Linked DNA regions of Homo sapiens: regions 2, 3 and 4 are each linked to region 1. The links are contacts of gene promoters, found by promoter capture Hi-C in blood cells and fetal thymus (Javierre and others, 2016). All regions are on one chromosome and are shown on one strand. Each heading gives the region's core, a stretch centred on a gene start or on the middle of the fragment in contact. The rest is flanking DNA. Distances are from core to core; before and after follow the strand shown.

Evidence for each region. Contacts are between HindIII fragments. The CHiCAGO score rates a contact against its expected background, and 5 or more counts as called.
Region 2: a fragment that was not itself captured here is called in contact with the fragment with the promoter of ZNF471 in region 1 in 2 of 17 cell types (erythroblasts and activated CD4 T cells); the score reaches 5.8 in erythroblasts.
Region 3: a contact is called between the fragment with the promoter of ZNF8 here and the fragment with the promoter of ZNF471 in region 1, in 1 of 17 cell types (M1 macrophages). The highest score is 5.2, in M1 macrophages.
Region 4: the fragment with the promoter of ZNF135 here is called in contact with the fragment with the promoter of ZNF471 in region 1 in 2 of 17 cell types (activated CD4 T cells and non-activated CD4 T cells); the score reaches 6.6 in activated CD4 T cells.

Annotation. Positions count from the first base shown.
Region 1 is chr19:56,506,423-56,509,122 of GRCh38, forward strand. ZNF471 (zinc finger protein 471) reads left to right here and starts at 1,433. Exons shown (of 5, transcript NM_020813.4): 1 at 1,433-1,498. The HindIII fragment of the contact is 1,838 bases long and covers 1,006-2,700 here.
Region 2 is chr19:58,106,016-58,108,715 of GRCh38, forward strand. It overlaps a transcript of ZSCAN18 not described here. Among named protein-coding and RNA genes, the nearest start is that of ZSCAN18, 9.1 kb to the left of the region's middle. The HindIII fragment of the contact is 4,764 bases long and covers 1-2,700 here.
Region 3 is chr19:58,277,682-58,280,381 of GRCh38, forward strand. It overlaps ZNF8 (zinc finger protein 8), which reads left to right and starts at 1,274. Exons shown (of 4, transcript NM_021089.3): 1 at 1,274-1,466. The coding sequence starts at 1,401. It overlaps ZNF8-DT (ZNF8 divergent transcript), which reads right to left and starts at 1,061. Exons shown (of 3, transcript NR_187495.1): 1 at 842-1,061. It overlaps ZNF8-ERVK3-1 (ZNF8-ERVK3-1 readthrough (NMD candidate)), which reads left to right and starts at 1,285. Exons shown (of 7, transcript NR_144447.1): 1 at 1,285-2,700. RefSeq lists enhancers at 1,350-1,399, 1,820-1,869. The HindIII fragment of the contact is 22,069 bases long and covers 1-2,700 here.
Region 4 is chr19:58,057,977-58,060,676 of GRCh38, forward strand. It overlaps ZNF135 (zinc finger protein 135), which reads left to right and starts at 1,306. Exons shown (of 5, transcript NM_001289401.2): 1 at 1,306-1,334; 2 at 1,993-2,059. The coding sequence starts at 2,027. The HindIII fragment of the contact is 3,956 bases long and covers 304-2,700 here.

The sequences.
Region 1 (2,700 bases), core at 183-2,682:
CTACTTCTGGGAAAAGAGAGAGCCTGAAAATTAAGTTGATCGCCAGTGGCCAATGATTTAATCAATCACATCTACATAATGAAACCTTGAAAACCGAAAAGGCCTGAGTTCAAGCGGCTTCCAAGAAGGTAGACAAAAACACATCCTCGTGCTGGGAGGGTGGTGCACCCCAACTCCACGGGCACAGAAGTTCCTGCACTAGGGATTCTCTCGGACCTTGCCCTACATGTCTCTTCATCTGGCTATTTGTATCCTTTAAAATATCTTTTATAATAAACCAGTAAACATAAGTGTTTCCTTGAGTTCTGTGAGCTGCTCTAGCAAACTAATGGAACCCAAGGAGCCGGCTGTGGGAGCCCCAATTTATAGCACATCTCTCTGAAACACAGGTACAACAATCTGGAGTTTGGAATTGGCATGGGAAGTGGGGGACAGTCTTTTGGGACTGAGCTGTCTAACCTGTAGGATCTGATGTTTTCCAGGTAGCGTCAGAATTGAATTGGAGTAGCGGTCACCTGGCTGGTGTCTGCTGCAGACAGGTTTTTTTGACATGTTAAGACATTATAAGAGACAATAGAAAAAATGTATACGATACAACCTTCTCTGAGTTATATTTCTCCATAGCCCTTTTTACTGTTCATCAGACTGTTTATCTAACTCATGAATTTGTGGCTTGTCTCTCTCCGCTTCAAAGTAAATTACATAATAAGAGGACAGGGATTTTTTTTTCTCTGCTGTATCCCCCTGAATTGCTTTTCCTTATTTGTCTCACCTTCCAATACTAATTCTACAGTTCTCCTAGTCAGGGCTAGTCCCCTAAAACGGGGACCATTTCCATTTTGTTAAGGGGCTGAACGCGGTTCAAGCCTAGCAGATTGGTTCCAAAAACGTCGTGTTATTCACTGCCTCTGATCAGTGACATTCCCATTTGCAGCTGAAAGAGGTATTAATTCGCCAGAGTCACAACACGGTCGGGGTTCCTCGTCGCTGTCTTATTCCAAAATAAGCTTAACACAGAAAGATAATGACACTCCCACGGACTGGCACAGAAGGCCGCGCTCCGAATGACATCGCGATCACAGAGGCACAGACAGCGTCACAAAGCCCCACGCGTACTCACACCGAAGGCTCAGCCGTCGCGCGTTTCCCTCCCAGGCCCCAGGAACTAGTAACTAGGGACGCTTCTGGTCTCTAGGCGAGGAGAGGGGGAGAGCGCAATCTTTGCGCCTGCGCACACTCCTGCTCTTACCCGCCGGAACCCTGGGCCACGCCCGGCTCGCGTAATCACGCACTGCGCAGGCACCGCCCGCTCTGCTCTAAGGTCCCTCTCACTCCTTCAGCAGCCCGAGGACAATCCCCTCAACACTAGGCCACGCCTTGTCTCCGCCCCTCTCGTCCGACCCCTGGAGAGAGGCTGGCGCCTGCGCGATGGGGGGTTCCAGCGTCGACTCACGGAGTCCTTCGGATGAGAGCGTCTGGGTGCCAGACGAGGCCGGGGGTTTGTTTTGGGTGGTTTGGGAGTCCGAGCTCGAGGGCTGGGCCAGGAAGGGCAGGCGAGGCGGGCGGCTCCGACGCGGGTCGCGAAGGCCCAGCCGCGTCCTCTGTCCCCAGGACGACTACATTTCCCAGAGGCCAGCGGGGCGCGCGTACTCGAGTCTGCGGGGCGGAGGCCGCGGCTCGGGGCTGCTGGGCGTTCGGGGCGGCTTGGGGCGGCGGGACCACTGGAGTGAGCTGTGGGAGAGATGGGGGTGTGCCTGTGTGTAAAAGATCTGTCAGAGTGTGAGGCTCCGTGAGAGGGTGTGGTTTCTGTGTGTGTGTGTGTGTGTGTGTGACAGACCGAGAGTCCAGTGTGAGACCAGGGTATGTTCGTGTGTGACAGAGCGAGACGGGCCAGTGTGAGAGACCAGTGAGTGTGAGAGAGATAGGGATGTGCCTGCATTTGAAAGAGAGCGTGTGAAGCTCAGTGAGAGGTTGCGAGGTGTGTGGGTGTGTAAGTGTGTAACAGACCAGGTGTCCAGAGCGTGAGACCAGGATGTATTCGTGTGAGAGAGTGAGACGGGCTGGATGGAGTGTGAGAGACCAGTGAGTGTGAGAGATGGGCGTGTGCCTGTGTGTGAAAGGCCGGTCGGTCGGTGGGTGAGGCTCAATGAGAGGCCGGTGTGTGTTCGAGAGAGAGAAGAATCACCATGTATGCGAGACTAGACTGTGCAAGAACAGAGTGTGAGACTGTGGTATGTTAATGTGTGAAAGGGAGACCAGTGAGTGTGAGAAATGGGTGTTTTGGGTGAAAGACCCGTCAGTGTGTGAGGCCGTGTTATGTGTGTCTGACAGACTGAGAGAGACCAGAGTGTGAGACCAGGGTGTGTTCGTGTGTGAGAGACAACATAGCGTGAGACCAGTGAGTGTGAGAGAGATGAGCACGTGGCTGTGTGTGAAAGACCAGTCATTATGTGAGGCTCCTTGAGAGGCTGGTGTGTGTGTATGAGAGAGAGAAAGAGACTAAACTGTGAGAGTCCAAAGAGTGAGACTAGGTTATGTTGTTATGAGTTTGTGAGAGAGAGGGAGGCGATCAAAGTATAGGACAAAGTTATGTTTCCTGGCTTACGACTTCTAAGATCCTTGGAATCTCCAAAGTATTAAGTGTCTTTTTGCATGCTAATGATTGGTGGGCTGGCAGCCTGTAGGTTGATCACGGTAAGG
Region 2 (2,700 bases), core at 107-2,606, 1.6 Mb after region 1:
TAGCTGCCATAGATAGTAATGATTCCTTGGATGGATCCAGGGAAAGTAAATTAAAAACCTTCTGGAAATGATTCACTATGCTAGATGCCATTAAGAGCATTCTAGGCCAGGCACAATGGCTCACACCTGTAATACTAGCACTTTGTCAGGATGAGGCAAGAGGATCACTTCGGCACAGGAGTTCAAGACCAGCTTGAGCAATATGGTGAGATGCCGTCTCTACAAAACATAAAAAAAATTAGCCAGGCGTGGTGGTGCATGCTGGTAGTTCCAGCTATGTAGGAGGCTAAGGTGAGAGGACAACTTGAGCCTAGAGGTCGAGGCTGCAGCGAGCCATGGTTGCAGCACTGCACTCCAACCTGGGCAACAGAATGAGACCATGTCTCAAAAGAAAAAAAGACATCTGGCTGGGCGCGGTGGCTCACGCCTGTAATCCCAGCACTTTGGGAGGCCGAGGCGGGCGGATCACGAGGTCAGGAGATCGAGACCATCCCGGCTAAAACGGTGAAACCCCGTCTCTACTAAAAATACAAAAAAAATTAGCCGGGCGTAGTGGCGGGCGCCTGTAGTCCCAGCTACTTGGGAGGCTGAGGCAGGAGAATGGCGTGAACCCGGGAGGCGGAGCTTGCAGTGAGCCGAGATCCCGCCACTGCACTCCAGCCTGGGCGACAGAGCGAGACTCCGTCTCAAAAAAAAAAAAAAAAAAAAAAAAAGAAAGAAAGAAAAAAAGACATCTGTTTTTTTTGTTTTTTTGTTTTTTTTTGAAATGGAGCCTCCTTCTGTTTCCCAGGCTGCAGTGCAGTGGCTCGATCTCTGCTCACTGCAACCTCTGCCTCCCAGCTTCAGGCAATTCTCCTGCCTCAGTCTCCTGAGTAGCTGGGATTACAGGTGTGCACCATCACGCCTGGCTAATTTTTTTTTGTATTTTTAGTAGAGATGAGGTTTCAGCATGTTGGTCAGGCTTGTCTCGAAATCCTGACCTCGTGATCTGCCCACCTTGGCCTCCCAAAGTGCTGGGATTACAGGCGTGAGCCACCGTGCCTGGCCAAGACATCTGTTCTTGAATAATGAGACTGGAAAGTCAAAATTACTCCTGATCTATGATGGGCTGCAGAATACATGTTGTGTTAGCAGGTGTGAGAACAACATTCATCTCCCTGTACATCTTCATCACAGCTCTTGTCAACAAGCAGCCATATTTTGAAAGGAATCTTTATTCTGAGGAAGTCTCAACAGTGGGTTTAAAATATTCAGCACAGGCCGGGCATGGTGGCTCATGCCTGTAATCTCATCACTTTTGGGAGGCCAAGGTGGGCAGATCACTTCAGGTCAGGAGTTCAAGACCAGCCTGACCAACATGGTGAAACCCTATCTCTACTAAAAAAAATACAAAACAATTAGTGTGATGGTGGGTACCTGTAATCCCAGCTACTTGCTCAGGAGTTTGAGGAAGGAGAATCGCTTGAACCCAAGAGGCAGAGGCTGCAGGGAGCTGAGATCACACTACTGCACTGCAGCCTGGGTGACAAGAGTGAAACTCTGTCTCAAAAATAAAATAAAATATTGAGTGCACCATGCGGTAAACACATGTGCTGTCATCCAGGATTTTTTCTTCCATTTATAGATGGAAAAACATATTTGTTACTTTCAAACAACATAAACTCTTCAACATGAAGTCTCTGACAAAGAGGAGGCAAAGAAAATCAGATCAGTCACTGCCACAGATGCTCACTGAATCCCCATAGGTCTCAGTCCAATGTGTCAACTCTGGTTTCTAGCGAGAGCACAGATACTTGGGAAAACTTTCCCACACTAGACACACTGGCACAAGGTCGCCTGAGCATGTACCTTCTTGTGCTTGGTCAGACAGGAGCTGTCCCTGAAGGCTTTGCCACACCGATTACACTCGTAGGGCTTCTCACCAGTATGAGTCCTCTGGTGCCAGATGAGGCCCGCGATGTTCCTGAAAAGTTTGACACTGGTTACAGCCACAGACCTTCTCACCAGTATGAATCCTCTTGTGCCTGATGAGGTACATAATCTCAGTGAAAGATTTTTTCACATTGTTTAACTCATGAGATTTCTTTCCAGAATGATTTTTTTGATGCAAAAGAGCTGACTGTTGTGGTTGGAGAATTTTTCACACTCCATACACATATAGGGTCTCTTTCCAATGTGAATTCTCCCATGTTTAATAAGTTATGTGTGATCAATGAAGGCCTTTCTACACCCAGTACATACATAGGGCTCCCCTCACATGTGAATTCTCAGATGGACAATAAGGTTGGAGACATCAGAAAAGGATTTTTCACATTCATTACATTCGAATAGTTTTTCCACAGTATGACTTCTGAAATGCAAAACAAGGGAAGAGTGGCAGCTGAAGGTCTTCCCATACCAATTCCTTTCACAGGGCTTCTTTCCTATGTGGGTTTTCTCATGCTTGGTAAAGGTGGAGCCAGCACTGAAGGCTTTCCCACTTCTTGCATTTATAGGATTTCTCTCCTGTGTGGATTTTTTGATGTACAATCAGGTTGTAATTCTTAGAGAGGGATTTTCCACAGTCATTACAGGTATAAGGGCTCTCTCCAGTATGAGTCCTCTGGTGACTGATGAAATGAGATTTCGGTCTAACGGACAGTCCACATTCACTGTCATTGTATTCATTTCCAGAGATACTTCCATTGTGTTCATAAGGAC
Region 3 (2,700 bases), core at 24-2,523, 1.8 Mb after region 1:
CCCGAGAAGCTGGGACTACAGGTGCCCGCCACCACGCCGGGCTAATTTTTGTATTTTTAGTAGAGACGGGGTTTCACCATATTGGCCAGGTTGGTCTCGAGCTCCTGACATCGTGATCCACCCGCCTCGACTTCCCAAAGTGCTGGGATTATAGGCGTTAGCCACCGCGCCCGACCTTTAATAAACATTTTAATGGACTACAACAGACCCACAGAAAAAGACACATCACAAAGTGAACACCCACAGGGAGAAGCAATAGGGCTGTCAGAGGCATTCGACCCAGAGCGACTCCATTTTGAGTGAGGGCTAGGAAAATGAGGCTGGGCTGCATTCCCAGAAAAGTAGGTATTCCTAACCTCTAGATGTTTACGGTTAAGGGAACAAATTAATAATGGGTACTAAAACAGACCCAGACTTGGGAGTGTCCAGATATCCCGGTATCTAGAGAACAAAGGCATTCCTAATTTTGCTTTAAAAATAATATCGATTCTTGAAAAATACAGTAAGAAAATTAATCCTTTTTCACAAACCCTTGTAGCAGAGCACATCTCCCCAAAATCTATTTTTAGCCCAAATATACACAAGCATTGTACCTAGGGTGCATACGTTCCTCTTACTTTCAGGAACGTCCTACTGTCTATGGGGTAGCTGTTTCACAACTTTACTTTCTCAACAAACTTGCTTTTACTTTGCACTGCGGACTCGCCCTGAATTTTTTCTTGCGCGAGATCCAAGAACCCTCCCTTGGGGTCTGAATCGGACCCCTTTCCTGTAACACAACCACCGCTCCCAGCCTCCCCGCTTCCAGCCGCTAAGCCCAAAGTCTTTTATATGAACAAACCTCTAACTCGTCCTGTGACTTTGATGCGTGTGCGTTTTAGGCACCGGGGAGCAGAGGGTAAAGCGGCGCAGCTCCGGGCCTCCTCCCGCGCAAGTTCCCGAGAAGAGCAGGTCCGGCCCGCGCAGACGTGCACGGTCCCCAGCCATTAGGAGGAGCAGACGGTCCCCACCCCCACAATCAGTCATCTCTCGGGGTCCGCCCTTGCTTCCTGCCCACGAGTGAGGCCTCTGGTTGCCCGCAACCTAAGGGGCATCGCAGCCCCGAGCAACACCGCCCCCACCAGCCTTAGCTGAGTGCTCCCATTGGCCAGAGGCCAGCGGGTGGGGGCTCCCATTGGCCATCGGCCATAATGCTTCCATTGGTCGAAGGCCAGACCAGCGGAGACTCCCATTGGCCGAGGGCTGTGGTTCGCCGCACGGCCTACTGGGAGTTGTAGTCGCCGCGTCGCCGGTGCGGCCGCCATTGTCCGGCGTTCGGCGAGTCGGGTGGTCCCTTTGGCTGGAGTGCCTCTCTGGTCTGGGGATCACCTCAGGCGCTGTCCTTCACTGGGCGATCCAGCATGGACCCCGAGGACGAAGGGGTAGCGGGAGTGATGTCTGTGGGGCCGCCGGCGGCCCGGCTTCAGGTAACAATAACAACAATAACGACGGCGGCGGGCTCCGGGCAAGCGTCTCCCGCGCAGACTGACCCTTTCACCTCGCGGCGCGATGAGAGCGGCACCGCTGTTAATGCCCTTGACACGTGGGGAAACTCAGACGCGGGTCGGGGCGTGGTGACCGTCCTGGCTGGTCAGAGAGGGGGCCGGGATTCCAACCAGGCGCCTGGCCCCCGAATGCGCATGCTCCACGCGGCTCTGTCCTCCCCAGGGCTGGGGTCGGTCATTCCCGAGAGAATCGAGCAGGCCCATCTCCTGCGTTCTGCTCCGCCCCGCCGACACCCTTGCCCATTCCAGGAAGGTCTGTCCTCGTGTTGACTGATAACAGTAATTGTAGCGTTGGCCGGGTGCCCAGATGGCAAGAATCATCGAATAGAGATGCTTTAACGCGTGGAGTCAGCGGACACCCACCGGGACCCCAGCACCGCGGAGCCCCTGCCCTGGGGCTTGGGCACAACCTCTTGGGGGCAATGATGGGTCACCACGCACTGAGTGTGATGAGAGTGACCACCAGGGTCGTCCCCTGCGAGACTGTGGGAGAACTGCAGTGCAGGGCGGTCAGTGTTTGCAGGGCCATCTGGCCATCAGAGCTCCACTTTCTAGACAAAGTGGTTGCGGCCTGTGTTCTCCATAAAGCTGCCTCGCGTGGCAGGAAACAACAATAATTATCCTTCCTCAAGCTCTGCAACTTTGAAATTATACTTTTTTTTATTTTTTGTCGTTGGTTTGTTCATGGGGATTTGCATTATTTCAGATTTGGTACACAAAGTGAGACTTGATAATCTTAGGTTGCAGGTTTTCAGATGTGTGTTGCTCCAAATTTGCATGAAATGCTACCACGTTTTATTTTGTTCTTGCTGTGGATGGGGGACAAGGAATGAGTCGTAAGAAAGGCTTGAGAGAAAGTGTATTAGTTACCTGTTGCTGTGTAACTCAAAACTTCGTGACCTGGAACAACAATAAATATCTCACGAGTTCTGACAGGAGTAATGGAATGTCCTAGCTGGTGGTTCTGGTTCAGGCCCATGAAGTTACAGTGAAGATGTCAGCATAGCTGTTGTCACCTGAGACCTGAGTCTGGAGGATCCACCTCCAGGATGGCTCACTCACATGTCTGTTGATAGGAGACCTCAGTTGTTCTCCATGTAGGCCTCTCTTTGGAACTGCTAGGGATCCTTGCAACATGGCATCTGGCTTCCCACAG
Region 4 (2,700 bases), core at 56-2,555, 1.6 Mb after region 1:
GACCGCTTGGGAAAAAGACTTCACCATGAGTTGTGTGTTCATACCTTTTGATCCAGTAAAAGGAAACGGTTGGGGGTGGGGGTGGGGGGCAAGAGTATACATTTTGTGAAAGAAAAAATACACAAAAAGATGTTTTGTGGCATTTGGGTTTGTGAGTTCGAGAACTGAAAAACGGCATTTTATGTATAATGGAAAGCCTCTTTACTGCTGTAGAGTGAAAAGCAGGCTGGCTTTCAGTGCGACGGTCACAAATGTGGGGCTTTACAGTACTTGGAATGTACAGGACGCCCTTAAAAGCCAAGAAGCTTGCCTTTGCTTTGTTTACATCAGTGCATTATGATTTTGAGCCATTATATCTCTTCATAATTGCCACTGTTTTAGGGCTTATGAAATTTAAAGTCTTAACTTGTGTGTTAACCAGCCAAATCTTTGCAAGTGTCTGTGTGTGGTACGAGAATTCGTATTGTGTTCTCTGCTGTTTTCAGAGTTGTTTCAGTCAAAGAAAAAAAAATGCCCGTCTTAAAACTTTTCCTCTGCTTCAAATACAGCTCCCAAGCCCAGGCTGATTGGAATTAATCTGTCCTCCCTTAAAAGGGCAAAAGCACAAGGCTCAGCCCTGGCTTTCCCAGCTCCTCTGGTCTCGCTGCTCCACGGACGTGTGACGTACGCTGGTGAAACGAAGCCCGCTTGAATGGGGGCTTCACTATTGTGTGCTGCTGAACCTAGGCCTAGCGCCTGGCAGGCTTTGGTGAATGTTCAGAAAATGACAATTCATTTCGTGTCAGCGAGGGCACACCAGCTTTGAATATTTTGCTGCTGTTCAAATGCACAATTTTGACAATTACCTAGCAATGTCCAAAGTCGTCATAATTGTTAGTGTCTTGCACGTGATGTTCCTTATAACCATGTAATAAATACAGTGTGAAGTCTCCATGGCTGCCTCAGTGTGGAAAATGCAAAGACTCCCGTGTGTGCGATCTTGGTGAATGTTTTGGTTGAAAGTATGTGTTTTGAAAAAATCATTGCTTTGTTTGCAGCAGTAAAACTGACGGTAGAGTTTCCAACACGAAAGCCCGTGTGGTCGCGCCGGGAGCTCACGGCGTTCCAAGCGGCACTTATCCCGCGTTGATGCCCAGGCACCCCGCGCGCCCTGTTTCACCAGGCCCAGTCACTCCAGCTCCAGCAGCACTGAGAGCTCACGAACGCCAAGGGCGAGAGCGAGGTGGGGGAGGGCGGCCGGAAATGCGCGCGCGGCTCTCTGGGAAATGGAGTTAGGCTCGCGCCGGCGCAGTGTCGGCTGCCGGTGCCGCGGCCTTTGTCTCGCAGTCAGGAGGGTGAGCTAGGCCGGCGAGGAGGGGGAGGGGAGGCCAGGCCGGGCCGGGCCGGGCCGGGTGCGGGGGGTCCGGGGATCTTCCTGAGGCCCTGGCGGGGCGAGTTTCCAGCAGCGCGCGTCTGTGTGGAGTCCGTTTTGCTGCCCGGGGCCTGGGGAAGGCCGTTTCGGGGCTGGCGGGGGCAGGCTTTGCGGGGCATCCCTAGTCTGAGAGGAGGGCGGGGCCCAACGCCCAGCTGGACAGGAGCTGCTCCGACGGCCCCTGAGGGAACGCGCGCCCCGCCCCTGGCCCCACCTCTGCCCCACACCGGGCACTGGGCCGCCACCTTTGTTGATGGAAGAGAGAAACTGAGGCATAGTGCCCAGGGCCAGGGGACCGCAACCACCCGGCCCTTGTCACTGTAGCGTTAAGGCTCAGAGTCTGCGCAGCAGATATGTGTCCGCACCCGCCAGGCCTTCAGCTTCCCTCAGACAGGCGGGAAAACCCTAGGCTGCCCTTCTCCGAGCGGAGGGCCGCCCCACACACAGCAGGCGCTTAAACGGGTACGCGGGGCCCTGGACGGCTCTCCGCGGAGCTCCCCAGGCTCTGGCGCAGTTCCCCGGCTTGGGGACCTGAGCACCGCCTCTGCCTGCCCCAGCTGCTCACCTCCCCTTTCCCACAGAGCAGGGCCAGCCGTTCCTGCCAGAAGCCAGGGCATGACCCCTGGGGTGCGCGTCTCCACAGACCCGGTGAGAATCTCGGCCTCCTTGCGCGTGTCCTCCACCTCGTGCCCGGCCTCCTCGCGCGCGGCCTTCTCACGCCCGGCCTCCTCTTTGCACCCCGTCCCTACTCGCGCTCAGCCTCCTCCTTGTGCCCGGCCCCTACTTGCGTGCCCGGCCCCTACTCGTGCCCGGCCTCTACTCGCACAACTGGCCTCTACTCGCGCACCTGGCCTCTACTGGTGCCCGGCCTCTACTCGTGCCCGGCCTCTATTTGCACATCTAGCCTCTACTCGTGTCCGGCCTCTACCTGCACACCCGGCCTCCTAAAGTCCGCGCCAAGCTCCCCAACCACAGCCTGCCTCTGAAAGGACCGCCCACGCCGCGCTGGAGGTCAGCGGGCACGGGTCCCTGTCTGAGTGGGCTTTATGTTTGTGCGGCCGTCATTGCATACCTGAGGCTGGGTGATGTCAGAAAATTGTAGGTGCCCCGGCTCTGCAGTCTGAAGTTGAAGGCCTTAGCATGCTCTGCGCTCCAAGATGGCGCATCGAGTGCCGCTTCCTCAGACGTCATGGAGGCCAAGGGGGCGGAACTCGCCTTTTTATGATGACATTAACCCCACCCATAAGCCACCAGAAGAAACCAGCCTCCTGTAGGAATGTCAGAAAACC